Regions from separate parts of the Homo sapiens genome. Here region 1 is linked to region 2. The links are contacts of gene promoters, found by promoter capture Hi-C in human tissues and cell types (Jung and others, 2019). All regions are on one chromosome and are shown on one strand. The core of a region is centred on a gene start or on the middle of the fragment in contact, and the rest is flanking DNA. Distances in the headings are between cores, read along the strand shown. Region 1 has its middle 28 kb from the start of ZNF699. Region 2 holds the start of ZNF562 (zinc finger protein 562).

Region 1 (5,178 bases), core at 1,712-4,211, 390 kb after region 2:
GCCTGGGCTCCCACTTTGGCGGCACTTGAGGAGCCCTTCAGCCCACCGCTGCACTGTGGGAGCCCCTTTCTGGGCAGGCCAAGGCCGGAGCCGGCTCCCTCAGCTTGCAGGGAGGTGTGGAGGGAAAGGCGCGAGCGGCAACCGGGGCTGCGCGCGGCGCTTGCGGGCCCGGCTGGAGTTCCGGGTGGGCGTGGCCTTGGCGGGCCCCGCACTCCGAGCAGCCGGCCTGCCCTGCCCGGCCCGGGCAATGAGGGGCTTAGCAACCGGGCCAGCGGCTGTGGAGGGTGTACTGGGTCCCCCAGCAGTGCCAGCCCGCCGGCGCTGCGCTCGATTTCTCACCGGGCCTTAGCTGCCTTCCCACGGGGCAGGGCTTGGGACCTGCAGCCCGCCATGCCTGAGCCTCCCACCCCCTCCATGGGCTCCTGTGCGGCCCGCGCCTCCCCGACGAGCGCCACCCTCTGCTCCGCGGCTCCCAGTCCCATCGACCACCCAAGGGCTGAGGAGTGCGGGCGCACGGCACCGGGACTGGCAGGCAGCTCCACCTGCAGCCCCAGTGCGGGATCCACTGGGTGAAGCCAGCTGGGCTCCTGAGTCTGGTGGAGATATGGAGAACCCCTATGTCTAGCTCAGGGATTGTAAATACACCAATCAGCACCCTGTGTCTAGCTCAGGGTCTGTGAATGCACCAATGGACACTCTGTATCTAGCTACTCTGGTGGGGCCTTGGAGAACCTTCATGTCTAGCTCAGGGATTGTAAATACACCAATCGGCACTCTGTATCTAGCTCAAGGTTTGTAAACACACCAATCAGCACCCTATGTCTAGCTCAGGGTTTGTGAATGCACCAATTGACACTCTGTATCTGGCTACTCTGGTGGGGCCTTGGAGAACCTTTGTGTGGACACTCTGTATCTAGTTAATTTAGTGGGGACGTGGACAACCTTTGTGTCTAGCTTAGGGGTTGTAAAGGCACCAATCAGCACCCTGTCAAAACAGACCACTGGCTCTACCAATCAGCAGGATGTGGGTGGGGCCAGATACCAGAATAAAAGCAGGTTGCCCCAGCCAGCAGTGGCACCTCGCTCGGATCCCCTTCCAAGCTATGGAAGCTTTGTTCTTTTGCTCTTTGCAATAAATCTTACTACTGCTTACTCTTTGGGTCCACGCTGCTTTTATGAGCTGTAACACTCACCGCGAAGGTCTGCAGCTTCACTCCTGAAGCCAGCGAGACCACGAGCCTACTGGGAGGAACGAACAACTCCAAACGCGCTGCTTTAAGAGCTGTAACACTCACAGTGAAGGTCTGCAGCTTCACTCCTGAGCCAGCGAGACCATGGACCCACCAGAAGGAAGAAACTCCGAACACATCCGAACATCAGAAGGAACAAACTCCAGACGCGCCACTTAAGAGCTGTAACACTCACCGCGAGGGTCTGCGGCTTCATTCTTGAAGTCAGTGAGACCAAGAACCCACCAATTCTGGACACAAGGTGGCTCCTGTGGTGGGTCCACATTGTCAAACCTTCATAGCTCAGTAAGTGTTGAGGGAAATAGGGAAAAGAGATGATTGAGGGGAAAGGCATTGACTTGTTAATCATAGGGCAGGAGAAACCCTGTGATGTCCACGGAGAAGGGGCTGTTGAGGCTGATTTCTTGGAAGGGAGAATGGCTAGACTACTTGCTTAAATAGCCATTGTATAGCGAGCTTTAACTTTGCCTGTATATTACTTGGGTAGATGACTGATGGAGGTTATAGGAAGGGCTACTCTTTGTTGGCCTGGGGCACTGTTTGATATCTTAGCGCTGCCCTGGATCACTCTGTGTGGTCTTGGAGTGACCAATCTGCATTGTACAAATGGATGCTCCAAGGTACATGATAGGAATTGCAATTCTCCCTGGGGCCTGGAGGGAAAGATGGATTTAGGGCAGGCAAAACTAAGGACAAGGAAACAGGGTTGGGGATTCCTCATATCATTGGAATTGAGGGGAACAACTCAGGAATATTTTTGCAGAAGAAAAACAAAGGCCAGGAGAGGTAAAGGAATGAGGTCAATGTCTTGCTAACAATCTCAGCTTAAGGACGAGACTTGACTTCAAGTGAAATGAAGGGAATTATGGAAAAGAATCCTGCAGGTTTCAGTAGGAGCTGTAGGTGCCTTGCAGTGAAGTCCTGGTCACTTCTAGTTCTTTTCACCTACTACCTGACCCAAGAACTTCAGAGGCCCTCAGCCTAGATCAAGCCTCTCTGAATTCTTCTCTGTGACCCTCACTTGCTTGGAAACATCTCCTGCCTCTCCAGAAAGACTTATCCTTCCCCATCCTTCTTTACCCTTATCCATGATTCTAAGTAGACACCTTCAAGAGACAAGCGTCTGTGTTCCCTGGAATGGAAGGCCATGGTGTATAACAACTAGGGTACGATGGGTGAGTGAGGGAAAGTGAAGGGCTCAGGCAAGCCCAACATCCAGTCTCCTCTTGACATCGTATCCTCTGGGGAACACGAGGGAAGCATTGAAACCTGCAGGATTCTTTTCCATAATTCCCTTCATTTCACTTGAAGGTCAAGTCTCATCCTTAAGCTGAGATTGTTAGCAAGACATTGACCTCATTCCTTTACCTCTCCTGGCCTTTGTATTTCTTCTGCAAAAATATTCCTGAGTTGTTCCCCTCAATTCCAATGATATGAAGAATCCCCAACCCTGTTCCCTTATCCTTAGTTTTGCCTGCCCTAAATCCATCTTTCCCTCCAGGCCCCAGGGAGAATTGCAATTCCTATCATGTTACTCCTTTGATTGCCGTTCCTTCACAGCCCCATCCTTTATGGATTATACTTTTCAAAGTTCTTAGACATGTCATCCCTGCCCACCTCTCCAACATCATCCTCATCGTTTCTATCTAACACTTTGTACTTAAGCAGCAGCAAAGGGCTAAGAGAACTCTGTCCCATGCTGCTTCTTGCTTCTAGGCTTATTCCCTTGCTTATATCTCTGCCAGAAATGCCCCTGTGCAACCATTCACCTGGGTAACTCCTTGCCCAGGTATTCCTTCCTCCAGGACTCCTTCCCTGAATGCATTACTCCAGGCTGGATTGAGGGTTCCTCTCTGTACTCCACTCTGTACATCGTTTTATTTTAGCACTTAATTCACTGTGTTACAATGATCTGTTTCTGAATCCATCTTCTGGAAGGTGGAACCATAAGAAAAAAAAGACCACATCATTAATCTTTGTATCCCCAACAGCTAACACTTAGCCTGGCCCAAAGAAGACCCTCTTGCAGAATGGCTGTTAGCACTTTTTCAGTGACTGACAACCTAGTTGTCAACCTAGTTCAATTCTTCTGTACTTCCCAGCACGGCTCAACAAAAATTATGCACCAGGCCACGTGCTGTGGCTCATGCCTGTAATCCCAGCACTTTGGGAGGCCGAGGTGGGCAGATCACCTGAGGTTGGGAGTTGAAGACCAGCCTGGCCAACATGGTAAAACTAACTAGTTTTTGTAAAAAACTAGCTAGTTAGTTTTGTATTTTTACAAAAACTAGCTGGGCATGGTGGTGCACACCTGTAATCCCAGCTACTCAGGAGGCTGAGGCAGGAGAATTGTTTGAACCCGGGAGGCAGAGGTTATAGTGAGCCGAGATTGCGCCACTGAACTCTCCAGCCTGGGTGACAGCTCAAGACTCTGTCTCAAAAGAAAAGAAAACAAACAAAAACCCAACAACAACAAAAAAAATTGTGCACCAACACTAGACACTAGAAACAGATTAGGACATATTTATTATGTGGATGGAAAAAGAGAATCATATAAGTGTCAAATGACTGTATCTTTCTGGTCTCTAATTTTGAAACCCTGGTTCTAAGGTAGAAAGTTTTTAATGTGCGGTCAGCTTCTTAAGATGAATGTTATTACTGGTAATGTCATGACCTATTTGAATCAGAATTTGGCTGCCACCATAATTCCAAGTGGGACTTAAGGCAACAAGTAACCCTTCCTTCCTTCCTTCCTTCCTTCCTTCCTTCCTTCCTTCCTTCCTTCCTTTCTTCCTTTCCTTCCTTCCTTCTTTCCTTCCTTCCCTTCCTTCCTCCTTCCCTCCCTCCCTTCCTCTTTCCTTCCTTGAAAACCTAAATCCACTCATCTTGCAATATTTTGTCTAGCTATTATCTCTGCTTTCATATTTTCTCACTGCTCAGACATAGTTGTCTGACCTTCTTCAGTCTCAGTTGTGTCTTAGACAAGGAAGATGACCCTGACCTTTTCTTAAGTTCACTGAACCTTATATGTGTTAGAGCAGGTGCAGACCATTTTATCTCTAAGGTCTAAAGTTGCTCTTGGTAGATTTGATGATTCTAAAGCAGAGAAAAAGGGAATGGGTAAGCCTCTGAGAGGCCAATGAACAGGGGTTAGTCAACGTTATGAAATGTTGCCTATAACAAATGACAGAATGTAGGATTCCTAAGTTTTGCTATTTTAAAGCTTTTGTATCCAATTATTCACCTCAAGAAATAAAAAAGCAGAGAGATTTTGGAGCCTGTTCAGCATCTATTTCATGTTTCTTCCCTTCCTTAACTGTCTAGCTGATGTGTCAGCAACATGGACTTGGGAAATCAAACAAGAGTTTCAGAATTTTTACTCCTGGGATTTTCCCAAGACCTAGAGGATCAACAGTTGCTCTTTGCACTGTTTCTGTCCATGTACCTGGTCACCGTTCTGGGGAACCTGCTCATCATCCTGGCCATCAGCTCTGACTCCCACCTCCACACCCCCAGGTACTTCTTCCTCTCCAATCTGTCCCTGGCTGACATCGGTTTCACCTCCACCGCAGTCCCCAAGATGCTGGTGAACATCCAGGTGCAGAGCAATGCCATCAGCTATGCAGACTGCATCGCCCAGATGTATGTTTTTCATGGTTTTTGGAGGCATGGACACATTTCTCCTCACCGTGATGGCCTATGACCGGTATGTGGCCATCTGTCACCCCCTGTACTACTGTGTCACCAGGAACCCCTGCCTCTGTGGCCTGCTGGTTCTTGTGTCCTGGTTCCTCAGCTTGTCATACTCCCTGATCCAGAGTCTGTTGGTGCTGCGGGTGTCCTTCTGCACCAGTTGAGTCATTCAGCACTTTTACTGTGAGCTTGCTCAGGTCCTCAGGCTTACCTGCTCAGACACACATGTCAATTA
Region 2 (5,101 bases), core at 1,564-4,063:
TCCCATATTGGCCTCTCAAAGTGTGCTGAGATTACAGGCATGAGGCAACGTGCCCAGCCAGAAATACATACTTGGTGAAGAAAAAAAAAATCAAGATTTATAGAAAGTATTATTATATTGAAAATGTGGCTGTGCGTGGTTGCTCATGCCTATTGTAGGGAAAAGAAAGAGATCAGACTGTTACTTTGTCTATGTAGAAAAGGAAGACATAAGAAACTCCATTTTGATCTGTACCCTAAACAATTGTTTTGCCTTGAGACGCTGTTAATCTGTAACTTTAGCCCCAACCTTGTGCTCACAAAACGTGTTGTATGGAATCAAGGTTTAAGGGATCTAGGGCTGTGCAGGATGTGCCTTCTTAACAATATGTTTACAGGCAGTATGCTGGATGAAAGTCATCACCATTCTCCATTCTCAATTAACCAGGGGCACGATGCACTGCAGAAAGCAGCAGGGACCTCTGCCCAGGAAAGCTGGGTATTGTCCAAAGTTTCTCCCCACTGAGACAGCCTGAGATATGGCCTCATGGGATGGGAAAGACCTGACCGTCCCCCAGCCTGACACCCATGAAGGGTCTGTGCTGAGGAGCATTAGTAAAAGAGGAAGGCCTCTGTCTCCTGAATGCCCCTGGGAACGGAATGTCTTGGTATAAATCCCGAATGTACATTGTTCTCTTCTGAGACAGGAGAACACTGCCCTGTGGCTGGAGGTGAGACATGCTGGTGGCAATGCTGCTCTGCTATTCTTTACTACACTGAGATGTTTGGGTGGAGAGAAGCATAAATCTGGCCTACGTGCACATCCAGGCATAGTACCTTCCCTTGAACTTATCTGTGACACAGATTCTTTGCTCATATGTTTTCTTGCTGACCTTCTCCCCACTATCACCCTGTTCTCCTGCTGCATTCCCCTTGCTGAGATAGTGAAAATAGTAATCAATAAATACTGAAGGAACTCAGAGACTGGTGCCAGTGTGGGTCCTCTGGACGCTGAGCGCCGGTCCCCTGGGCCCACTGTTCTTTCTCTATACTTTGTCTCTGTGTCTTATTTCTTTTCTCAGTCTCTCATCCCACCTGATGAGAAATACCCACAGGTGTGGAGGGGCTGGCCCCCTTCACCTATAATCCCAGCATTCTGCAAGGCTGAGATGGGCAAATCACGAGGTCAGGAGTTTGAGACCAGCCTGGCCAACATGGTGAAATGCCCTCTGTACTGAAAATAGAAAAAATAGCTGGGCATAGTGGCAGCCACCTGTAATCCCAGCTACTCAGGAGGCTGAAGCAGGAGAATCACTTGCACCCAGGAGACGGAGGTTGCAGTGAGCTGAGATTGCACCACTGCACTCCAGCCCGGGCAACAGAGTGAGACTCCAGTCTCAAAAAAAAAAAAAAAAAAAAAAAAAAGTAAAAAGAAAACGCAATGGAAACAGCAGGTTCTATAAAATAAAGAATGAAAAAATAGGCTGGGCGCGGTGGCTCACGCCTGTAATCCCAGCACTTTGGGAGGCCGAGGCGGGTGGATCATGAGGTCAGGAGATGGGGATCATCTTGGCTAACACCGTGAAACCCCGTCTCTACTAAGAATACAAAAAAATTAGCTGGTTGTGGTCGCGGGCGCCTGTAGTCCCAGCTACTTAGGAGGCTAGGCAGGAGAATGGTGTGAACCCAGGAGGCGGAGCTTGCAGTGAGCCGAGATTGCACCACTGCACTCCAGCCTGGGGGACAGAGAGAGACTCCGTCTCAAAAAAAAAAAAAAAAGAAAAAGAAAAAGAAAAAATAAAGGCCTACAGAAAGAATGACTGAATGGAAGAGACAGACCATGCCATCTATCACTGGCAGGTTTAATATGGAAGAATCATGGAAAGGCTCCAGGAACATGAGGAGCGGCATACAAAAAAGCTTGACACACACACACACACACACACACACACACACACACACACATATATATATATTTTTTCTTTTTGAGATGAAGTCACGCTCTTGTCCCCCAGATTGGAGTGCAGTGGCGCAACCTCGGCTCACCGCAACCTCCGCCTCCCGGGTTCAAGCGATTCTCCTGCCTCAGCCTCCTGAGTAGCTGGGATTACAAGCGCCTGCCACCACACCCAGCTATTTTTTTGTATTTTTAGTAGAGACGGGGTTTCAGCATGTTGGCCAGGCTGGTGTCAAACTCCCGACCTCAGGTGATCCGCCCGCCTTGGCTTCCCAAAGTGCAGGGATTACAGGCGTGAACCACTGGCGCTTGGCCTTATATATATATTTTAATAGAGACAGGGTCGAGCCGGGCACAGGCCTGGGCAACAAGAGTGAAACTCTGTCTCAAAAAAAAAAAAAAAAAAAAAAAGAAAAGAAAAAAAAAGACACACGGTCTTGCTATTTCACTCAGGCTGGTCTGGAACTCTTGGACTCAAGCTATCCACCTGCCTTAGCCTCCCAAAGTGCTGGAATTACAGGCGTGAGCCACTGAGCCCGCCCAGGATAAGCTTTGGAGGAGCATCCTCTGGGGTGCGTCCCATCCCCCATCCCCGCCTTTCCAACCCGTCTGGGCACCTGAAACGCGGGCTAGGCCGGGTCCCACCTCTAAACCGCCCCCAAATATGGGCCCCACCCCTCGCCCACGGTTCCGTCCAGAGGTCCGGTTCTAAACTCATCTTTTTCTCTGAACCCGTTTCTGCATCCCGCTCCCTGAGCCAACCCCAGGCACTGTCCGGCACCCACCCAGGAGGAAACTAGAATTTCTTTGTCCTACGTGCCTGAAACTCAAGCCCTGGAGCCCCACCCGGCCGGAGGCTCGGAGCGGAAGTGACGTCAGTGTGCCACCGCCATCTTTACCGGCTGTGGCTCAGCATGGTCAGTGCCGTTTAACCTTTATTGTGGTGGAGTCCACCCCGCTGTGGTGAGTTCTACCTGCTTGGGGGTCCGGGACATACCAGCGGGGCGGCAAAGGAAGGATTGGGCGTGGTCGCCCAGGAGCCTCTCAGATCCGCCTAGTTTCACTCGCTTTTCTAGGGGCTGTCAGTCCTCCTGGTGCGGCCTCTGGCCAGTTCCGAGAGGCCGCACAGTCCGTCTGGCTGCGTCGGGAAGTGTGTTTGTTCCGCCTCCGCCGGGTGTTTTCTTGAGTACTTTCATCCGCTGTGCTCCTCTCTTGAAAAGCTTGGAAAGCAACCTTTGGGAGTTTTTTTCTTTCCGAAAGGAAAAGGATTTCTGCCCTTCTGGTGAGGTTGGCTCTGGCCCCGCATTCTCCCGCGTCTGGAACCTATCTCTTCCGGCATGTTCCTGGTGAGCAACGGCGGAAAAATGGTTTCAAGAGGGCTGTGACTTCCATTTATTTGCTAAAAAATGTCTCATCTGAGAATCTGGCGTTGTCTTGATGTCCTTTACTTTTTTTTTTTTTTTGATTTGGAGTCTTACTCTGTCGCCCACGCTGGAGTGCAGTGGCACGATGTTGGCTCACTGCAACTTTCACCTCCCGGGTTCAAGTGATTGTTAGATATGAGTTTTAAATTTCTTTTTAAAAAATCAATATGTCAGTATGTTTAATTCTTTGCCTTCTACTTTTAAACTTCTCCGTAAAGCAACCTTTTTCGATCACCTGCTCCACCCTGACTCATTCTGATTACCTGCTCCACCCAGACTTATTTCGATTACTTACTCCACCCTGACTCATTTTCCACCCTGACTCATTCCAATTTCCTGCTCTGTTATAACCATTTTCCCCAACAAACCACTCACCCTGTCACTCTCTTTAAATTAGCCAATTGGAATTAGTTTAGCCTGTGGGGTCTAACCCTAGCCATCGGGGAAGGACAAAGCGGCAGGGGCCACTTTCCTCAAGAATAAGAACCCCTTCCCCTCCCTTGTCCTGGTGTGTGCTCACCATTGCTCCATCTGTGAGGGCACACCCTTCTGTAGAAGTAAATTGCCTTGCTGAGAAAAGAAAATGTTATATTTGAGTGCTTTTTTTTTGTGGCATGAAAACTTTATAACATGATTCACCTGCCTCAGCCTCCCGAGTAGCTGGGATTCCAGGCGTGCACCACCACACCTGGCTAATTTTTTATATTTTTGGTAGAGATGGGGTTTCACCATGTTGGCCAGGCTGGTCTCGAACTCCTGACCTCAAGTGATCCACCCGCCACTTATTTTTGACACATTACATTCAGATGGAAAAAACATAGTTGTTTAGGGTGTGCCCGTTTTTGTATGTAAATATGAACGCGTGTAGACTAAGCCTTTAGTTTTTAATTTTTATTTTCTTGCAGGTTATTTTTTTTCTAATTGTTACCAGCTGCAAGCCTTTCTACTTAAAGCCAGGCCAGATGCACTGGCTCACACCTGTAATCACAGCACTTTGGGAGGCAGAGGCAGGCGGATCACCTGAGGTCAGGAGATCCAGACTAGCCTAGCCAACATGGTAAAACCCTGTCTCTACTAAAAATACAAAAATTAGCCGGGCTTGGTGGTGGGCCCCTGTAATCCCAGCTGTTGGAGATAAAAAAATAAAACGCTGGGTGCTGCAAAGTGAAACCAGCACTCAGGCAAAAGTTTTCTCAGCAACGCAATTTATTTCTATAGAAGGGTGAGTCTCGTGGATGGAGTGATGGCGAGAGTACACCAGATAAGGGAGGGGAAGGGGTTTTTATTTCTAACGCTGGGTCCCTACTTCTGTGTCTCTCCCCCGTGGGTTAGGGTCAGACCGCAGAATCTAAACTGACCCTATTGGCTATCTGTGAATATTTTCCCCAAATAAGGAAGGGTAGGGGGATGTGTGAGTCATGATGGTGGGATGTGCAGTTTCAAAGAGTGGAATAGCTGCAGAATGAGTAGCCAAGGGAACAGATGTGAGTTATTGATTAGAGCTGATGGGAAGGTTGTTTACAGTAACTAGAGGCAAGGAGGCATGGAGAACAGGAAAGTTGAGTTTGAGAACAAAGAACAAGGAAGTTTACAGGCTGAACTTTTGAAGAGAAATTCAGAGAAATATATTGTATCTTACACAGCTACTCCGGAGGCTGAGGCAAGAGAATCACTTTAACCCGGGAGGCGGAGGTTGCATTGAGCCGAGATCCCGCCACTGCCCTCCAGCCTGGGTGACAAGA

The links. Contacts are between HindIII fragments. The study calls those that stand out against the background at their distance.
Region 1: a fragment that was not itself captured here is called in contact with the fragment with the promoter of ZNF562 in region 2 in 2 of the 25 tissues and cell types used here (lymphoblastoid cells and pancreas).

The regions. Positions count from the first base shown.
Region 1 is chr19:9,278,782-9,283,959 of GRCh38, reverse strand. It overlaps the pseudogene OR7H1P. Among named protein-coding and RNA genes, the nearest start is that of ZNF699, 28 kb to the left of the region's middle. The HindIII fragment of the contact is 5,089 bases long and covers 417-5,178 here.
Region 2 is chr19:9,672,812-9,677,912 of GRCh38, reverse strand. It overlaps ZNF562 (zinc finger protein 562), which reads left to right and starts at 2,813. Exons shown (of 6, transcript NM_001130031.2): 1 at 2,813-2,898. RefSeq lists enhancers at 1,607-2,606, 2,869-2,928, 2,607-3,106, 2,645-3,844. The HindIII fragment of the contact is 2,519 bases long and covers 2,193-4,711 here.